7 separate regions of the Homo sapiens genome follow, and regions 2, 3, 4, 5, 6 and 7 are each linked to region 1. The links are contacts of gene promoters, found by promoter capture Hi-C in blood cells and fetal thymus (Javierre and others, 2016). All regions are on one chromosome and are shown on one strand. Each heading gives the region's core, a stretch centred on a gene start or on the middle of the fragment in contact. The rest is flanking DNA. Distances are from core to core; before and after follow the strand shown.

The links. Contacts are between HindIII fragments. The CHiCAGO score rates a contact against its expected background, and 5 or more counts as called.
Region 2: a fragment that was not itself captured here is called in contact with the fragment with the promoter of SUCNR1 in region 1 in 1 of 17 cell types (monocytes); the score reaches 6.4 in monocytes.
Region 3: a contact is called between a fragment that was not itself captured here and the fragment with the promoter of SUCNR1 in region 1, in 1 of 17 cell types (M2 macrophages). The highest score is 6.0, in M2 macrophages.
Region 4: a fragment that was not itself captured here is called in contact with the fragment with the promoter of SUCNR1 in region 1 in 1 of 17 cell types (fetal thymus); the score reaches 5.5 in fetal thymus.
Region 5: a contact is called between a fragment that was not itself captured here and the fragment with the promoter of SUCNR1 in region 1, in 2 of 17 cell types (monocytes and M2 macrophages). The highest score is 6.6, in monocytes.
Region 6: a fragment that was not itself captured here is called in contact with the fragment with the promoter of SUCNR1 in region 1 in 2 of 17 cell types (total CD4 T cells and fetal thymus); the score reaches 5.5 in total CD4 T cells.
Region 7: a contact is called between a fragment that was not itself captured here and the fragment with the promoter of SUCNR1 in region 1, in 1 of 17 cell types (activated CD4 T cells). The highest score is 5.9, in activated CD4 T cells.

The regions. Positions count from the first base shown.
Region 1 is chr3:151,872,331-151,875,014 of GRCh38, forward strand. It overlaps SUCNR1 (succinate receptor 1), which reads left to right and starts at 1,313. Exons shown (of 3, transcript NM_033050.6): 1 at 1,313-1,376. The region is part of intron 1 of AADACL2-AS1 (AADACL2 antisense RNA 1); the gene reads right to left. The HindIII fragment of the contact is 8,098 bases long and covers 1-2,684 here.
Region 2 is chr3:151,161,840-151,164,523 of GRCh38, forward strand. MED12L (mediator complex subunit 12L) reads left to right here. Exons shown (of 45, transcript NM_001393769.1): 9 at 2,054-2,203. Among named protein-coding and RNA genes, the nearest start is that of GPR171, 40 kb to the right of the region's middle. The HindIII fragment of the contact is 409 bases long and covers 1,126-1,534 here.
Region 3 is chr3:151,182,920-151,185,603 of GRCh38, forward strand. It overlaps MED12L (mediator complex subunit 12L), which reads left to right. Exons shown (of 45, transcript NM_001393769.1): 12 at 2,411-2,542. Among named protein-coding and RNA genes, the nearest start is that of GPR171, 19 kb to the right of the region's middle. The HindIII fragment of the contact is 1,886 bases long and covers 427-2,312 here.
Region 4 is chr3:151,200,057-151,202,740 of GRCh38, forward strand. All of the region lies in intron 16 of MED12L (mediator complex subunit 12L), which reads left to right. GPR171 (G protein-coupled receptor 171) reads right to left here. Exons shown (of 3, transcript NM_013308.4): 2 at 853-941. Among named protein-coding and RNA genes, the nearest start is that of GPR171, 1.8 kb to the right of the region's middle. The HindIII fragment of the contact is 235 bases long and covers 1,254-1,488 here.
Region 5 is chr3:151,231,403-151,234,086 of GRCh38, forward strand. The region is part of intron 16 of MED12L (mediator complex subunit 12L); the gene reads left to right. All of the region lies in intron 1 of P2RY14 (purinergic receptor P2Y14), which reads right to left. Among named protein-coding and RNA genes, the nearest start is that of GPR171, 30 kb to the left of the region's middle. The HindIII fragment of the contact is 3,000 bases long and covers 1-2,684 here.
Region 6 is chr3:152,518,881-152,521,564 of GRCh38, forward strand. No RefSeq gene overlaps it. Among named protein-coding and RNA genes, the nearest start is that of MBNL1-AS1, 250 kb to the left of the region's middle. The HindIII fragment of the contact is 2,193 bases long and covers 230-2,422 here.
Region 7 is chr3:152,486,453-152,489,136 of GRCh38, forward strand. No RefSeq gene overlaps it. Among named protein-coding and RNA genes, the nearest start is that of MBNL1-AS1, 220 kb to the left of the region's middle. The HindIII fragment of the contact is 1,244 bases long and covers 724-1,967 here.

The sequences.
Region 1 (2,684 bases), core at 63-2,562:
GAGAAAGTTAATTGACCTCTCTGAACCTTAGCTTTTTAATCTGCAAAATGAGAAAAATCTTAAATAATAACAACCTCAGAGGATTACTATATGCATTTGATGCATAAAGGTACTTAGTGTAATACCTGCCTGCCACATCACAAGAACTCAACAAATTATAGATATTTTTATTTCATGTAAATGCACATGTTTGTATACATAAATATTCATACATGTATAAATATATTTTACACATGTATATAAAGTGTGTAATATAGACACATATGTATGTATATATGTATGTGTATATATACATACATATATTTTGAGTTCCTGAGTTTTTAAGCTGTCAGATATTGGTGAGGAGAAATGCTTAGTTAGGAGGATGCCTGTAACAGAGCTTCTTTTTGGGCTTCTGCCTGTCATTGCTAACTCAATATTCAACTTACATAGCATTTAAATTGAATTACTGCTGCCTGCACAATTATGGGCTTTCTTAGTATAATCCCTATGCTTCACATCAAGAAGACTGAGTGTTTACTTGAATCTAAACCTAATATAATGCTTGGAAAAAGCCAGGTGTGCTTCCTGTCTGAAATGGTGGTAATGTACTTCCAGATGTTTTTCAGAGCATTGATTGGGATATATAAATTGCCATCTATTAAGGTTATTTTACTTAGCATCTCTCTCCCTAATCCCTAGCTATCTGATGTATCTTTTATGTGTTTCTTGATTTTAAGCACAGAAAATAAAATGGAAAATAACTTGAAGCTCTAGTATCTTTTTGCTAGTACACCAACATAGCATATATCCAGGTTTCCCTTTAAAATTTCAGTTTTATAGTTCCCTCAAAGTTATTGAAAACAGAGGTTTCGTTATTATATTCTCAATACAGAATTCACTAAGAAAATTAATTTTAAAAAAGAAGAAAAGCAGAGGCAACTGTATTCCCAATATAAGCAGTATTTACCACTTCTTATTGTGTAAATATGCAAATAAAATGAAAATAAGGAATGCTTCTCTGTTGCTTTGGTAGTGGATAAAATAAGTTCAACAGTGTTTTTCTAAAAATCTATTTGGTAAATGTGTTTCCTGTGAAATGAGTTACTTGTTTTTTGTCATTCAATTGCAAAACTGCATGTGAAAATAAAATAAATGTGAATGTGAAAATAAAAGCCTCACAAAAATTCCTCTGCATGAACATCTCTGACTGGGAGGTTTGACTGAATAAATTATTCCTGGGCTTTTGAATTATTAATCTTGGCTGCAGGATATGCAAATAGGATATGCAAATAGGACACTGTAATAACCATGTCCAGTGGCACAACACTGGGTCAGAAGCTATATCCAGCTGCTGGCAGAGTTCCTGTCAAGGGATCAAGTCTTCCAACAGAATGGTAAGCTACATGGCAAATTGTGCCTCTCAGTGTATAAAGTAAGGCCAGATTTCCTTCTAAAGGTGACCTGTGAGCAATTAAGGTTTTCAGTATTAAGTGTTTAAATTAATTCTTTATAAATAGATGTAAAACAGCAAAATAATTGAAAAAAAAAAGTCATTTTTATCTCTACGTTTATTTTTCAACAAATTAACTGTCTTCTTTTAGTTGTCAAATACTAATTTTATTTTATGTAAAAGGATTTATTATATTTGCTAACATCTCAACAACTTATATTTCAACAAAATAGTAATTGGATTTACCTAAATAAATATAACTACTTATGGGGAAAAATTAAAGTTCCTAAATGATTTGAAACAATCATGTATTTGATACATACACACACACACACACACACACACACACACACATATACATACATATATATATATATATATATATTTTTTTTTTTTTTTTTTTTTTTTAAGACAGAGTTTCACTCTTGTCACCCAGGCTAGAGTGTCTGAGTGCCAGAGTGACACATTTACAGCATGTGTTGGCTCACTGCAACCTCCGCCTCTGGGGTTCAAGCAATTCTCCTGCCTCAGCCTGCAGAGTAGCTAGGATTACAAGCGCCCACCACCACGCCCGGCTATTTTTTTTGGATTTTTTAGTAGAGATGGAGTTTCACCATGTTGGTCAGGTTGGTCTCAAACTCCTGACCTCAGGTGATCCACTCATCTCGGCCTCTCCAAGTGTTGGGATTCCAGGCATGAGCCACTGTGCTGGGGCATAATATTTTTATGTTTAGAAAATAATGTATTTGGGGGAATTTTCAGGCATCCTAAAAATTAAATTTAACATTTATGTGTGTAAAAATGATATTACCCAATAATTAATTTACTTAGGAAAAATGAAAAATTGCAGAAACCATTTCTATTCTACCTTCCATAACTTTTCAAAATGTGTGTGGTATTCTTAAAGAAGTTAATACACAATTTGTGCCATACTATTACTTTTTAATACCTTAATTTCTGGTGTAATGTATGGAATACATAAAAATAAAGTTACAAATGTTAAATTATTATATCTTTTCAGTGTGAATATATATTTTTGCTCAAATTATTTAGTAATCAAAAAAGTAATTTGTTAAAAAAAATTCTCATGTTACCATGTAAATTTGCCTTAAGGTAGCACTTAAAAGTAAACATTTTACAAATGTTATTTGTTTAATTGTGATGACTATAAAAACAAACAATTAAAAAGCTAAGAAACTATCACATATATATTTTAAAGTAAATTTCAAAAATGCAGATTTTCAAAAGGCTG
Region 2 (2,684 bases), core at 80-2,579, 710 kb before region 1:
GTGGGCAATGTGTAGAGTATTGGAGACATCTGGCAAGAAGATGGCTGAAGTAGTCTTTAACAATATAGTGTTCATTGGTGATCTTTTAAAGAGCTATTTAATTGAATGGTGGATAAGGAGCCAAATTAAGGAATGTCGAGGAGTGATGGAGAATAAGGAGAAATAGCACTAATTGTTGTTTTGAGAAACGTGTTTATGAAGAGAAGAGAAGAGAATGGATAATGGATAAAGATGGCAGCTGAGTGGAGAGTTAAAAATATATATATATTTTGATGGGCAGATTTGAATGTATTTTTGGGCTAAGAGCAAATAGGAGAAGGAGCAGTGTTTGATAGATCAGTGCCCTGGGTATTAGAGGGCTTTGGAATCAAGGACACAAGGAAGGGCTCTGTCAGGAGGAGTTGAGAACTCCACATTGTTACAGTCATGAGGAAGGCAGTAGGGATGTAGCCCAGTGGAAAGAGATGGATTGGTAGGTTTCAGGGACTTGACATTCTTTGTATCTGCTATCTGGTTTCCACAAAGATGTCTCCTAGACCTCAGAGTTTATTTTTTTTATTTTTATTTTTTTTAAATTGATTGATGAATTGATTGAGACAGGGTTTTGCTCTGTTGCCCATGCTGGAGGGCAGTGTGGCCTAATCTTCAGTCACTGCGGCCTGGAGCTCCTGGGCTCAAGTGATCCTCCTGCCTCAAGTAAGTGATCCTCCCCCCTCAGCCTCCTTAGTAGCTAGGACTACAGATGTGCATCACCACACCCAGCTAATTTTTAAATTTTTCTTAGAGATGGGGTTTCACTGTGTTGCCTAGGCTGGTTTCAAGCTCCTGGGCTCAAGTGATCCTTCTGCCTTGGCTTCCCAGAGCGCTGGGATTATATGTGCAAGCCACTGTGCCTGGCCAGCTTTTTGTACTTAATTTCATATTTTTGAAAAAAAATTTGCTGTTGAATGGCACAAGAGCATAATGGCTTAGATATACACTTTAAAGCTGTTACAGACCTGATTTTAAACCTCACTCTGCCACTTAGTAACGGTGACCTTGAGCCTCTGTTTCCCCGTGTCTGGTTGGGGAGTAATGATAGTTCTTACTTCATTGCCTCATAGGGTTAAGGTTATGATGACGGAAAGCTTCCAAGATAGTGTTCAGCGTAGACTAAGTGTAATTAGCTTAATTAAATGTGAGCTATAATGTTTAATCTATGTTTAGGAGGCAGGATAACATAGTGGTTCTGAGCATGTGTGCTATTAATAAAATCAAACTTGGGTTGGTTACTAATCTACGCGGCTCATAGTCCTCTTTGGTAAAGGTGGGGGATAACACTACCTAGATCATGGGGTTATTGTGACACATAAGCAAGATGGTCATATAAAGTACTTCTGGTTGAGTGAAGAGTGTCTGCAAGTGTCTAGGGCGAGGGAGATCTACAGGCTGTGGATCAAATTCGGCCCACAAGGTAAAAATAGGTTTTATGTTTTTAATGCATTATTAAAACAAAAATGAAGAATGTGTGACAAAAACTGTAGGTAGCCTGCAAAGCTTAAAACATTTACTATCAGGCTTCTTATAGAAAAAGTTTGACAACCCCTTGTCCAGGGTTACTGCCTGCCCACCATTTATGAAGCTACTATTACATGATTATTTGATTTTGTTTTTGTTTTTAAATACTTCTTTTTTTTTAGCTTTTACAGCCTTAGAAATTACATATTATAAGTTCATCTCATGTTTTTAATTGCATGAAAAATTGGTTTAAGTGACGATTTTTAAGTGATGATTACTGCATTTTTATTAAGTTCCTTCAGGTTCCTGTTGGAGTATTAGCTTATGAATTATTCCTTAATTTCTCAACAGCTGTACTTCCTCCCTTTCAACTTAATAATTTTTAGTTTTGTCTTCTCAATTGCGAAGTTGAGAATGGGGTAAGACACTCTCGTATTTTAAACTTACTAGTAGGAGACAATAATACAGTGATGACAGGGTGTCGTTTTTACTGTTTAGCTATTGTTATGCTTTTCTCCTTCCTCTGAACATCCAACTTTATCTGTTTCATTTCCAGACTGTCACTCTCTGTTGCCCAAGTGCCTTGGTGTGGAATTATTCCACAAATGAAAATAAGAGCGCAAACCCAGGCTCACCCCTGGATCTGCTGCAGGTGGCCCCGTCCAGCCTCCCCATGCCGGGTGGGAACACGGCTTTCAATCAGCAGGTAGACTTTATGTTTCAGTGATTTGATGGCTGTTTTCATTCTTGACAGGCATCAGGGCACAGTGGGTCAAGCACAGGTTTTAGTATCTAGATGCTTGGGTGCTATCCCAGTTTTGCCTGCTAACACTCTGGGTGACCTTAGAGAATTGTTTAGCCTCTTCAGAACCACTGAAATTCTCGAAGTTGCTCCCTTTCTTTTCACTGTCTTGCTGAACAGTTCTTGCTGAGAGTTCTGCCACCCAGACTGTAATTATGGTGGTGGTTCTAATACATGACCATGACTCCTGTAGTAGTTTTGATATTTGGTAATTATTATATGTTCTTATTGGTACTGGGTTATTTGTTTCAAAGCCTTATGTGACTTGAACCATAGGATTGTGATTAATATTTAGAATAAGATCCCTGTCTTGGGATCTAGAACTAGAAATACCATTTGACCCAGCCATCCCATTACTGGGTATATACCCAAAGGATTATAAATC
Region 3 (2,684 bases), core at 120-2,619, 690 kb before region 1:
AAGGGTAAAATGAGATCATATGTATAAATAGGGCAGAACACAGTGCCTAGCACATAGTTGTGTAAGTGGATGTTATACCCCAAGGCTTCAGGAGAGCATATGATTTCCACTATGTTTAGATAGGTCTTTTCTGTCCTTTACATTTTTTTTCTATTTATCAGAAATCTGATATTTTTCCTCCAAGGCCCAATTTACATTTTTTTCCCCAAAACAAACAGTGTTTTTCTTTTGCATGATAAAAGCAGAAAATAAAAATCTCCTGTAGTCCTCTCTCTGGATAAAACCCTAGTTAACAGTGTGACTATATGAAGGTTCAAGACCATGCCTCTCGTAAAACCTTCCCTGGATTGTCCCTGTGGATGTGCAGTGTATAGAGCCTCTTATTCTGCTCTGTGTTTGCTGTTTCCTTCTTATCTCTTGAGTGTAAGCTTCTTAAGCAAGAAAATGTGCCTTCCTATCCCTAGCAGCACTGAACGCTCATGCACATTATGGGTGCCCAGATGAGATTTGTCTTTCTCCTGCCTTTTCAGAATCGTGTGTGCTGTGTGTACACCGTGCTTGGTTTGCTGATCTTCAGAGTGTCGTGTGTGATGAGTTTGTGTTTGTTTTCTCAGAGATGATGTGGGCACACTAGCTGTTGTTTTGGTTTATAAAAGGGATGTGGTAATGTGATTTGTTTTGACTTCTCTTTTGTTGTAGTTTATTCAGTAGATCTGAAGAAATCTGTTCTCCCACGTAGGTGTTGAGACATTACTGATCACATACAGTTCTTCTATATGTCTCCCTAATTTCACATAGATATTAAATCTCACATAAAATCTTCAGTGGGAAAAGAAGTTTTTAAATTTTAAAATCACCTGTTTCTTGTAGCACATTTTAGTGTAATCCTGAAGATGCAGGAGAAAAAAAAATCTGTGTAAATGTGGATATGAAGCATATTACTGCTTAGATTAATAAAAACTGAAAGCAGTATTTTTAGGGTAACTCTTTTTGTTATCTTTAATATTCTAAACCTATAAGCATGTGGTCCTTCACTGGATTGACTTTTATATTTTTATGTTCATATAGGTTAGAGTGAATCTGGGCAGAAAGTCCTCCCAGTTTACTTTCTGTTTTAAATGTTATGTTCAAACATTTCTTTCAATTGAGTTACTTCTCTTGTTTTAAATTAGGAAAACAGAGCTCCCTTTGAGGTATCTGCCTCAGGTAACTCATTTCTTTGGTTTGAGTAACCATGTGTTTAAATGACAAAATTTAGGGTATGATGAATAAAAATCTTGGAATAAACTGATTTTCATGATCTGAATTGTTTGCTAGCATCTACAGCTGATCAGGGATACTTATTCTGGGATTCTTGGATGGCTTTTCAGACTGCACAGACATTCCGAAATGTGCTAAGTTCATGCATGTATGTATGTATGTTCTTCCATGGCGTGTGCTCATAGCCATATCGTAATCTTAATTGAGTTTATGGATTCTACAGTATTAACTTCCTTCATAGCCTGTAGTGCTAATGCTGCGATTATCTAGTTTTTCTGGCATCATGTTTATCCCCATGGGGACATATTAAAAACTTGTAGTTGATGTCCTATTGGTTGGCGTGGACCCTCTAAAAGGAAAGGACAGATCACACGGAAGTACCATCTCCCCGCTCACCACTCGCTGCACCCCTATCCGCGACTCATGTCATTTGGGTCCCCAACATCCTCTCATCCTCAGTCGCTGGTGCCTATTTCTAGGCCATGACAACTGTGGCTGACAGTTCTGGTCACCATGCTGAGCCCTACCTAGACCCGGCTGCTGTCCTTGGTTGACTGTGTCTGCCCTTAATTGTTGGTTCGTTTTGGTGCTGGGCTGTCATTTTTCGTGTTTGTTATTTCCATTGGGACGGGTGTTTTACCAGCGTTCCAGCCTCCCCTCTGGTTTGTTCCTTCTAATTTTGTATTGGAGTGGGTCACTGGATAACCTGGCTTGTCAGAATTATTTATTGTATGAGGCATTGAGTGAGTGGGGGGCCTGAGGGTGCCAACAGTAGAGTGATGTACTTTGACTTTGTGACAGCTGTTCTTGACAGTCAGTGGTTGTTTTTTTCCCTTACTATTTGGTTTTGAAATTTGAGTTCTAGAGGGTAGCTGGGGCTAGGTTATGTCCCTGTGTAAGTGAAGGCATCCACAGGGAAGCTCTAATTCTTTTGGAATTGTCACAGATTCAGCATAAGTGATTTCTTTCCTTGTATAGGTTTATTTTTTGTATTTCAATTAAAAATGTTTTGGAAGCGCTTTCTAAAGCTACTATAATAAAACATGGAAAAAAGCTTTAAAGTGTTAGATATTCCCTTGCTTGCTTCCTGCCTCTTGCTGGGTGAATGTTTCATTTGATGTGGCTGGTACCCCTCTCTGTTGGTCATTAGGTTGCGCCCAACGATGAAGCTGTGGTGACGCTGTTATGTGAATGGGCCGTGAGCTGCAAACGGTCTGGCAAGCACAGGGCCATGGCTGTGGCAAAACTCCTGGAGAAGAGGCAAGCAGAAATTGAGGCAGAGGTAGGTTCCATTTTCTTTCTGCTTGTTGAATGCCGTAATGTAAAAATACTGTTTTGGGGAAGATCATTTTCTCTTACCCTCATTATGTTATTCTTTTGCTCTTGAGGAAAAAAGGGAGGATGTAAAAATTCACATAAGGAAG
Region 4 (2,684 bases), core at 121-2,620, 670 kb before region 1:
TTTATTTATATTAGTATCAAAACATCTGACTTCAACACTTGAGTCGCTTTTTTTTTCTTTCATTGTGGGTTTTGAAGCAGTTAAAAGCCCAGAAGCATAAGACATACCCTTAGAACTACTGTGATCACCACTGATAATGACAATGAAGTCTTGTCATGTCCCTCCCAAATCTGGAACATTGAGCGGGTTTGTAAGCTCAAGTTAAACTGATAGGGCTCCCTTTGACCTGGTCTATTCAAACTCACATGCTTAGAGCTAAGGGTACATTAGTAATCTTTCTGGTGCTGCCTGTTGGTGTGGGTCCCCCTTTTGCACATTAAACAGTGTTCTTTTGTTTTAAAGACCTGAAGATTATTTTTGTATTTTAGCAAGGAAACATTTTATATTATAATACAACCTTTTTAAAAGAAGCAAATATAAGTTATAGTGACCAACATTGAAGGCCAGATCAGCTACTCTGTAAGTGCCTTTTAATAAGAGAATAAAACTTCTGACATCTTTCTAAATTTTAATTTCCCCAATTAATTAATGATCCTTTGTGTGCATTTGTAATGAAACAATGTATGCAAACAGATGAATAAGGCAGATGTACACAAAGCTTTCTAAATTCAAGTGCTGCTTAAAGGCTACATGCCCTTTCTCTTTCCCTACCTGAGTTAGCACGTTAGAGTCCATGAATAATGTCATTCTTTACCAAACTCGATGAAAATAATTAAGCAGTTGGTTTGTATCTGGCACTATGCCAAATACTTTACATGTACTTATTTAACTTCTTATCATTTCCATAAGCTAGGTGTTGTTATTGTCCCTGCTTTACAGATGAGGAAATTGAGGCATAATGGGGTTACTTACCCAAGGTTGTGTAGCTGGTAAGATATAAAGCCAGGATTCCAGCTCAGTCAGTCTGATCTCAGAATCACATTCAAAACCACTCCAAAACACTGCCTCAGTAACAATAGTAAGATGATGATAGAAATGATAATGATTATTATTATATCTGCCAGTCTTTACTAAGGGCTTACTGTGTGGGCAGGAACTATGTTCTAAACAATTTTTATGTAATAAAGCTGAAATAAACTATTTTTAACTTTTTACCAAAATACTAAGAATATAAGTTTAGGCTTTTCGTATATTTTGCTGTTCTATGCATACAACCACGTGCACACACTCTCTCTCTCTCTCTCTCTCTCACACGCACATTTAAAAACAAAACCTAGGCCCATCCAATAAGTTTAAACCAACTTTGCTCTCAAAGCTTCCATAACCTAGTTTCTCTCTACCATCTCTACTTACATCCCAGATTAAGATTGGGATTGGTGGGGTCTCTATTATTCTGTGTACAGTTCCTTCCTGCCTTTATACTTTTGCATGTGATAGAAATTTTGGAGTCATAGGATTTTAAGGATGGATGGAAACTTTATCGATAGCCTGTAGTCTAATCCCCAAGTCAGTTGAGGAGATTGAGGGCTGGCACTGGTGTGTTCCTCAAGCTTTCACAGCATGTTCAGGCAGGACTAAGATCTGTTCTTATTGGTCATCTTCTAAGCGCTCTGCATTTATCCTTACTATTCCTGAATCCTGCTTATTCCAGAGCTTTAAGGAAGCTCCTCACATCTGAAAGCTACTCCAGGCTTTACCGATGTCCTTGGCGACCATGAATTTGGATAGTTACCATTTGTACCTTGGAATTTTGAACATACTTTTCTTCTTTATGTGAAAAACTAGTATTCGTGTGCATTGATATAGTGTCACATCTTTGCTTATTGTTACTTTCTAAGGCCCTAGGATTTTGGCTTACGCACTTCTATTTCAAATATTACATAATAATGGTAACATAATGTGTTTCTTTAAGTGCTCCATTGCTTGCACAACTATAAAATAAGTCTGTTGTATCAATGAGACGTATATGGTAAAGAGAAGAATTAGAGTAATTTATTTTGATTAATTTTCTCTGTAGCTAGAACTGACGATATATACCGTACATGAATAATTTATCTGAAATGAATAATCATTCAGTAATTCTCAAGAATCATGGAGCATCTCACATTTCTCACATTTGTGTTTGTGAACTTTTGTCTAAATTGCAGTGAGAAACAAATCTGTTTATTTAAAATTTTTGCTTATGTAAATTAGAGGTTAAAATATTGTATAATAACATCCTGTGTTCTGTGTCACAAGTTTGAGAACTAAGTGCTTAATAAATATTTTACCAGACAGTTACTTACCAGTGAAAATGTGAGATACTCAGAAGTAGTGCAGCAACAACAATACAAGATTTTAACTGTCTCTGTAGTTTGGATAGAGTGCCCATTGCTTAGAAAATAAATAAACTGGCTGGGCACAGTGGCTCACGCCTGTAATCCCAGCACTTTGGGAGGCTGAGGCGGGTGGATCACTTGAGGTCAAGAGTTCGAGACCAGCCTGGCCAACATGGTGAAATCCTGTCTCTACTAAAAATACAAAAATTAGCCAACGCGGTGGCGGGCACCTGTAATCCCAGCTACTCGGGAGGCTGAGGCAGGAGAATTGTTTGAACCCGGGATGTGGAGGTTGAAGTGAGCTGAGATCGCACCACTGCACTCCAGCCTGGGTGAAAAAGCGAGACTCCTCAAAAACAAAACAAAACAAAAACAAAATAAAAGCTTATTAGATTTTCTATGGGAATCACAGTGGAATCTTCTTGA
Region 5 (2,684 bases), core at 128-2,627, 640 kb before region 1:
TGGTGGTCACTGAATGATCCAACTTACCAAAAGTGAGATAATCTGGCATCGTATGCCTCCTGATATGATTTAGTTAGATGTACACAACATACTTTTGTAATAAACTGTATCAAAAATCTTCAATGAGCAATCAGACAAATTTAGAATATGAAACATTTGATAAAGCAACCAGCCTTGGACTCTTTAAAAAAATCAATGCCACGAGAAACAAACATGATGGGCTGGAAGGGGACAGTCGTAGATTAAAACAGGCCAAAGAGAAATAACACCGTTAATGAGTGGTGATTGTTGGCTGGAGGGAATAGCCATACAAATTGTTTTGAGACAGTTGTATAACTCTGAATACAGATTCTAGATTAGGTAATATTACTGAGTAATAATCTTCCCAGAAATATTGATGGTGTGGTTAAGCGAGAGAGTATTTAGAGATGCTTATTGAAGTATTTAGAAGGGAAGGGTCATGATTACCTGCAACTTATTTTGAAAGTACTTCAGTACAAGAAAACAAAGTGTTATGTTTGTATGTTTGTATAAACTTGTGTATTCATGGGCTTTTTTTGCTGATATATGCATGCCTATATGCACATATACATGTATACACACACGTGTGTGTGTTGGTTTTGAGGGAAGGGTCCTGTGCTCCGTGCCTGACAGGTAACGAATGCCTAATAACAGTCTCCTGGGTGTCTCTGCTATTTTTCTTACCTTTCCTTCTTACTTTCCTGTGGGGTCTCCTCTGCCCATCCTTAAAATTGATGTTTCTTGTTCTATTCTTGGCCATTTTCTTTTCTCTTTCTATATACTCCTCTATGCCAAAGTAGTCTTTACTTAAAACATTGTTTGTAGCTCTTTGAGCAATCACAGTGTTGCTTTCCACAATGGTTGAACTCATTTACCCTCCCACCAATGTGTGGAAGTGTTCTCTTTTCTCTGCAACCTTGCCAGCATCTGTTATTTTTTGACTTTTTAACGATAGCCATTCTGATTGGTGTGAAAACAGAACTACCATTTGACCCAGCCATCCCATTACTGGGTATAAACCCAGAGGAATAGAAATCATCCTACCATTAAGACACATGCACATGAATGTTCATTTCAGCACTATTTCATAATAGCAAAGACATGGAATCAACTTAAATGTCCATCAGTGACAGATTGGATAAAGAAAATGTGGCACATATATGCCATGGAATACTATGCAGCCATAAAAAAAGAATGAGATCATGTCTTGTGGGAATATGGATGGAGCTGGAAACCATTATCCTTAGTAAACTAACAAAGGAACAGAAAACCAAATACCACATGTTCTCACTTATAAGTGGGAGCTAAATCATGAGAACTCATGGACACAAAGGGAACAGTAGACACTGAGGCTTACTTGAGGATGGAGGGTGGGAGGAGGGAGAGGAGCAGAAAGATAACTATTGGGTACTAGACTTAGTACCTGACAAAAAAATCTGCAACAAATCCCTGTGGCATGAGTTTACCTATATAACCTTCAGATGTACCCTTGAAACTAAATTTTTTTTAATATTGTTTAAAACCATCATCTGTAAAACAAAATTTTCTTTTCACCTTTCAAATATTCTTCTAACAGCTATTACCAGACAGTGTATGTGCTATTGGTGATAAAGCAATAAAAAAACACCAACATTGTCCCTGCCCTCTTGGAGCTCAGAGCCTGCTGTTCTGGCATCTGAGCAGCCCCATTTCTTTCCCCTCCTCCCCTGAACATCTCTAGTTTCTGCAGATCTGGGTCATTTGCAGCTCTGGATGTTGACGAGCCCGGCTGCCTCACCTCCACAGGGTAGCACTCTCGTGCCCTCTGAGTTTAGTCATGCCTCACCTTGAGCTACGCTGTCTTGTCATCTCTTATTCTCATCACATTCTGTAGCAATAGCTACCATTCATTTTGAGTTTTGTGTTTTACCAAACACAGACAGTGTTAATTGCTTTTAAATATAGTCTTTCTTTTCAATGGAATGTTTGATACTTTGAAAAGACTACATGTAGTATAAGTTAAAGCACAACAAAAAGAACATAGCACTGGGCCGGGCGTGATGGCTCCCGCCTGTAATCCCAACACTTTGGGAGGCCGAGGCTGGCGGGTCACCTGAGGTGGGGAGTTTGAGACCAGCCTGACCAACATGGAGAAACCCTGTCTCTACTAAAAATACAAAATTAGCTGGGCGTGGTGGCAGGTGTCTGTAATCCCAGCTACTCGGGAGGCTGAGGCAGGAGAATCACTTGAACCCGGGAGGCGGAGGTTGTGGTGAGCCGAGATCGTGCCATTGCACTCCAACCTGGGCAACAAGAGTGAAACTCCGTCTCAAAAAAACAAAAACAAAAACACAGCACCGACTTGAGAGCGAGAGTCCCACAGGCATTCTTGGATCGTTCCTGTTCCTCCTCTGCCATCCGCCTTTCTCCGCCTTGTGGTAACTCTGTCCTGAATTGTGTGTTTTTTATTTCCTCCCTTTTAAAACTAATGATTTTAGTCCATGTGTACATACATTCCTTTGTAAAAATTGTTCATGCTATATGTAATCTTTTAGGACTTTAAAACATAATGCTGAGTAGAGAAATTTAAAAAGTCTATCACTTTGGAAAGGGAATTGGAAATACTTGGTGAAGATGAACATTCACTCACTCTGTAGCTGAGCATTTTAACTTTTAGGTGTATG
Region 6 (2,684 bases), core at 76-2,575, 650 kb after region 1:
ATATCGGAAAGGGGGGCATTAGAGTGCTATTCTCAGAAGTTCATCCGATGGCCAGAGGTTAGCAGATTCATGAAAAAAAAAAAAAAAAAAAAAAAAAAAAAGCAACCTAAAGACTTTTTGGATCTTCTGTTTTTAGTAAAGTTATATAACTAACTTTTTGAAAAATCTCCCACTCTAAAACTTTTTATGTATGTTGGGTAAAATATGATCACCTTATTTTCAAATGCAAAGCTTGATTCATAAGATGTAGAAGGACATTCCCACAGAATGAGAAACAAAGTAGGCTATCATAACACCTGACATCATCTCTGATGAGTATATCTTCAAATCTCTATGTCCCAATGCCTTGGCTTTTTGCAGCTCCACATAGGACAGGAAATGAGGTCTTAGTACACTCAAAAACGGAGATTTTGAGCAGGGGATCCATATACACCTGAGAGCCATAAAAGGCCACATTCTCAAAGAATAATAGACTTGTAAAATCTGCTCCCCAGCAAAGAGAAATAATAAGGAAATCAATCACTCTTGGTGTAGCCTCTGGGTTAAAAGTAATCTTGGGGGTTGGGATTCATCTTTCACTTATCTGTAATGTCTGATAAACCCCAAACCAGACAATTGACTTTATGTGGTTCTAGACTGATAGAAACTCAGAACACCTGGTAGAAACCAAAGCAAATACTCTCTAAAGAGATGCCCAGTCATCAGAGACCTCATTGAATTCCCACTGATGAAGCTAGTCATTTAAGTAAATTCACAATCCAAATTACAAAGCATAGAAGGCATAAGGCCACAATGAGAAAGAGCCAGTAAAACCAAGAAAAATCCAAATTTGACCCTCAAGGGCTTTGGCTATTCAAATTATTGAATGTAGAATGACAAGCACACAAACATATAACCACAATTATTGAATAAAAACTAATATAATGTGGTTTTAAGATTCTCAGAATGTTTGATGAGCATAGCATTGCATTTCTTGATTTGTTACAGAATGGATAAGGAGATTTTGTGATTCAGTCGTCTGGTGACTAATTGGAATTTGCTTTTTTAAACACATAAGGGAGGGGTGAAAATGGAAAATGTTTATAAAACAAATGAAAGTCCTCTTTGAAACTAAAATTATAATAGTAACCCTTAGAAAAGAATTTAGTAATTTGAGAAATAGCATCCTTAAACTTGGTCTCATGGCTTAACTAGTATTATTTTCTCTGTCTGTAAAATGAAAATTTTAGACCAGTCTATGGGTGAGAGATAAAATGCTTTTTCTCCTCTCTTATATTTCATTTTGCAGGCTTGAAAAAAAGAAGGTTCTGCTATTTTTGAGAACTCCACTATTTTTCATAGTGGTAAGCTGATAAGTTTCTAATTAAAAACAAACCTAGATCTATCATGTTAATATAGAATCATTTCCCAGGTACATTGTTAAGTGAAAAAAACTGAAGATACAGAGCAGTGTCTAAATGTCTTATTTGTGTAAAAAACATACATATTATACTTATTTATATTTGAATAGACTATTCTTGCAGGAATATGCAAAAAAAAATGATATTTGTTTGAGGGAAGTTGCTAGTGAATTTAGAGATCTGGAAAGGAGTAAAACTGACCGTTTTAAACCTCACTTAATTGTTATTTCAAATTTAGAAACTTCGTTAATAGAAAATAGACAAATTCTCTCACTAACCAGCAGATACCTTCTTTAGTTAATGATTATGCATTATTTGCCATTCATTTAGGCAATGCAATATCTAACATGTATACTGTATTAAACAGCTTGACTATGTTTGCTTAGGTCTAACTCCTAGCCCACAATTTTTTAGCTTTATGAAGTTGGTCAAGTTACTTGGCCTGTCACTGGCTCAGTTTTGTCTTCTATTTAATGGCCAAAATAACAAAATTGTGTTAAAAATTAAATAAGCTAATCCATATAAACTGCTTTATACAGTACCTGACACATGGAAAAAAACATAATGAACGTTAGCTCTAATCATTATTTCAACCTTGCTGATAATTTTCCAGTTCCTACATTTCAAACACCTGCATGTACTTGAAATCTCAAAAATGGTCACTAATTAAAGTGGAAAGTTTTAATACATTGTAGGACACTGTTATTTGACAATTATTACAGATTCACTTTCAAAACTTCTTTTGTCAGGCATATTTTGAAGATGACAGAACCAGACTGAAATATCAGAATAAGATCAATATTGTTGCCTCACATAAATGTTTGGTCTTCAGGCTATATACCATCTGATGAGCACCTGCACATAAACATTACATTTCACAGTTTGCCAAATATTTCATGAGTATTAGGAAGTGCATCCCGTAAACAAGAAAATAAAATATGCACTTGGTTTATGAAATCATATCATTATTCCATTTGAAATAATAAGTGAATGAAATCCTTCAGTAATATCAGTTGAGAGAAAGCTTGGCTTCCAGATAATTCAAATTTATTATTTTACAAGGACAAATAAGATTAATTATCAAACAGACAAAAATACCAGACTTCACAGAAGACCATAATTTCTTCCCAAAAGACTGATTTACATTTGAAGCCAAATTGTTACAGAATGTTCAGTTTATAAAGTATTTCTTCTGAGCCCAAGGAGTTGGGTGATTTTTAGCCACCTGACAACCCTCTTCTCGGTGGAGAACATACTTTGACTTTCCTTGACTATTCAACAGAG
Region 7 (2,684 bases), core at 96-2,595, 610 kb after region 1:
CAGAAATCTTTTATGATCTTCAGTTCACTTTTCAGGGGGACTAACAGCATTTCTGAGTCTCCTGAGTCAAGATCGTGTGAAGTTACATCATTTGGCAGTAAGGAAGCCAACAAGATCAGCAAACCATGTGTCAGCATTTGTCTGCAGGTACTTCTTTGTGTGTGTGCTTACTAAATTATTTATATTTATAATCTCATGTAATCAAAGGGAGACAAATGATTTTGTTCATGTCATAGAGGAAAAAAATTACTTGTTATTTAAAGTGCAAATGTATGTAGTAACTTCTGCCTACTAGGAGGCATGGCACATTTTTATCAATAGAAGTAATAATCTCCTTATTGCTCTATTTCTCTGAATTATCTATTTTAGAATAGTATGCTGCAAATGCAAATGTCTTGTGTAAGTAGGACATTTATGTTCCAGTCGTTGTTTCAGCCATGAAGAAGGAGAGAATTCTGCATTTTGATCAAATCAAGTGCAAAGACACAAACGGTCTTGGGAGAGGAGGTTCAAGTGAGAATCACAAGAGAGCAGGAATTATGAACCTAGGGCGATCACAGGAACCTAGGTCCCTGCAATACATAGAAATCTAATGGGTCTACACAGTATAGGAGGCAGCATGTGTGGGTAGGTATATTCCAATGTTTACTATGTTTGTGCAAGTATAGTATTACAATAAGGTTATGACTCCATTTCTTAATGTTTGTCTGCTAACAACTTTTAAGCTTCTCCTCTTCCTTTTCCTCTTTTTTCCCATATGTGGGCAACCTGATTAGAAAGCCTAATACTTTCTCCTTTGGCACCTGCAGGAAGTTCAAGCCGCATACAGGAATCCTCACCTCAGTCTTCCTCTCTGATTACATAAAAACCCCATGCTAGTCTTTTTTCCCTCCTCTGTCAAACTACTTTTGGATTTGCTTGGAATCTATCTTCCTCAAAAAGCCTCATTATTTGAGTAGTAAACCTTTTCTTTTAATTAATTAATTAATTATTTTTTTTTTTGAGACAGTCTCCCTCTGTCACCCAAGGCTGGAGTGCAGTGGTGCGATCTCAGCTCACTGCAACCTCCGCCTCCCAGTTCAAGCGATTCTCATGCCTCAGCCACCTGAGTAGCTGGGACTACAGGAGTACACCACCATCCTCGGCTAATTTTTGTATTTTTAGTAGAGATGGGGTTTTGCCATATTGGCCTGGCTGGTCTCAAACTCCTGGCCTCAAGTGATCCACCTGCCTTGGCCTCCCAAAGTGCTGGGTTCACAGGTGTGAGACACCACATGATATGGTTTGGCTGTATCCCCATGCCAATCTCATCTTGAATTCCCACATGTTGTGGGAGGGAGCCGGTGAAAGGTAATTGAATCACGGGGGCTGGTCTTTCCCTTGCTGTTCTCATGATAGTGAATAAGTCTCACGAGATCTGATAGTTGTATAAGGGGGTGTTTCCTGCACAAGCTCTCTCTCTTTGCCTGCCACCATTCACATAAGATGTGACTTGTTCCTCCTTGCCTTCCCCCATGATTGTGAGGCCTCCCCAGCCATGTGTAACTGTTAGTCCATTAAACCTTTCTTTTGTAAATTGCCCAGTCTCGGGTATGTCTTAATTAGCAGCGTGGCAATAATACACCACGCCTGGCTAATAAACATTTTCATACTCTCTTGGTGTATCATTCTCAACATTCAAACAAATTTTGGATATAGGTTCATTCCCTTGTGTTACATAAGCATGTAAGTACATTTCAGTATATATGCACAGTTAGATTTTAGATTTAGGTTGAATTTATAGGGAGAACCCTACTATCAGAAAGAGAACTCAAAACTTGTGAAAGGAAATAAGAGATCTGAGTAAATATTTTTCTGAAGTCTGTGTTTAAAATTCACATTGAGTGAATATAGCTAAAAAGTCATTTTGAAAATTAAGGAGCTTCTGAGAAAGAGATAATCACTTTTAAAACAGCATCTAATACATAAGCTTTTCTTTTTCTTTTAAATACCAGTGAGGTTTTAAAATCCTACCCATAGTTACAGAGTACAAAATAGAGTCTCAGGTGACTATGGCAGGCATAGATATAGATTAACATAAGTTCTTGCATTTGTGTGGCTCTAGTCAGAATCAAATCAAGCACAGAAATAGACAGATGAGATAAAACCAAATGTTGATAGAGTCTATACATGAACTTGGCACCGTTAGAGATGGAAAGCCTGAGTATTACTTCTGTCATTTCTGGCACAAGGTAATGAGACTGGTAAGGGCAAAGTATTATGATCAGATGCACTGGATGACATTTAGTCACATGTTGATTAAGAAAAGAGGCATGTGGGTTTTTTGAGGTGTTAGGTGAGAAAATTCAGGGAAGTTATATGTTTAATATATGCCATTCAAGAAAGGAACATGCCAACCATTTTTTTTTTTTTTTTTTTTTTTGAGAGGGAGTCTTGCTCTGTCACCCAGGCTGGAGTGCAGTGGCGTCATCTTGGCTCTGGGTTCATGCCATTCTCCTGCCTCAGCCTCCCCAGCAGCTGGGACTATAGGCGCATGCTGCCACGCCTGGCTAATTTTTTTGTATTTTCAGTAGAGACGGGGTTTCACCATGTTAGCCGGGATGGTCTCGATCTCCTGACCTCGTGATCCACCTGCCTCGGCCTCCCAAAGTGCTAGGATTACAGGCGTGAGCCACCGCGCGCGG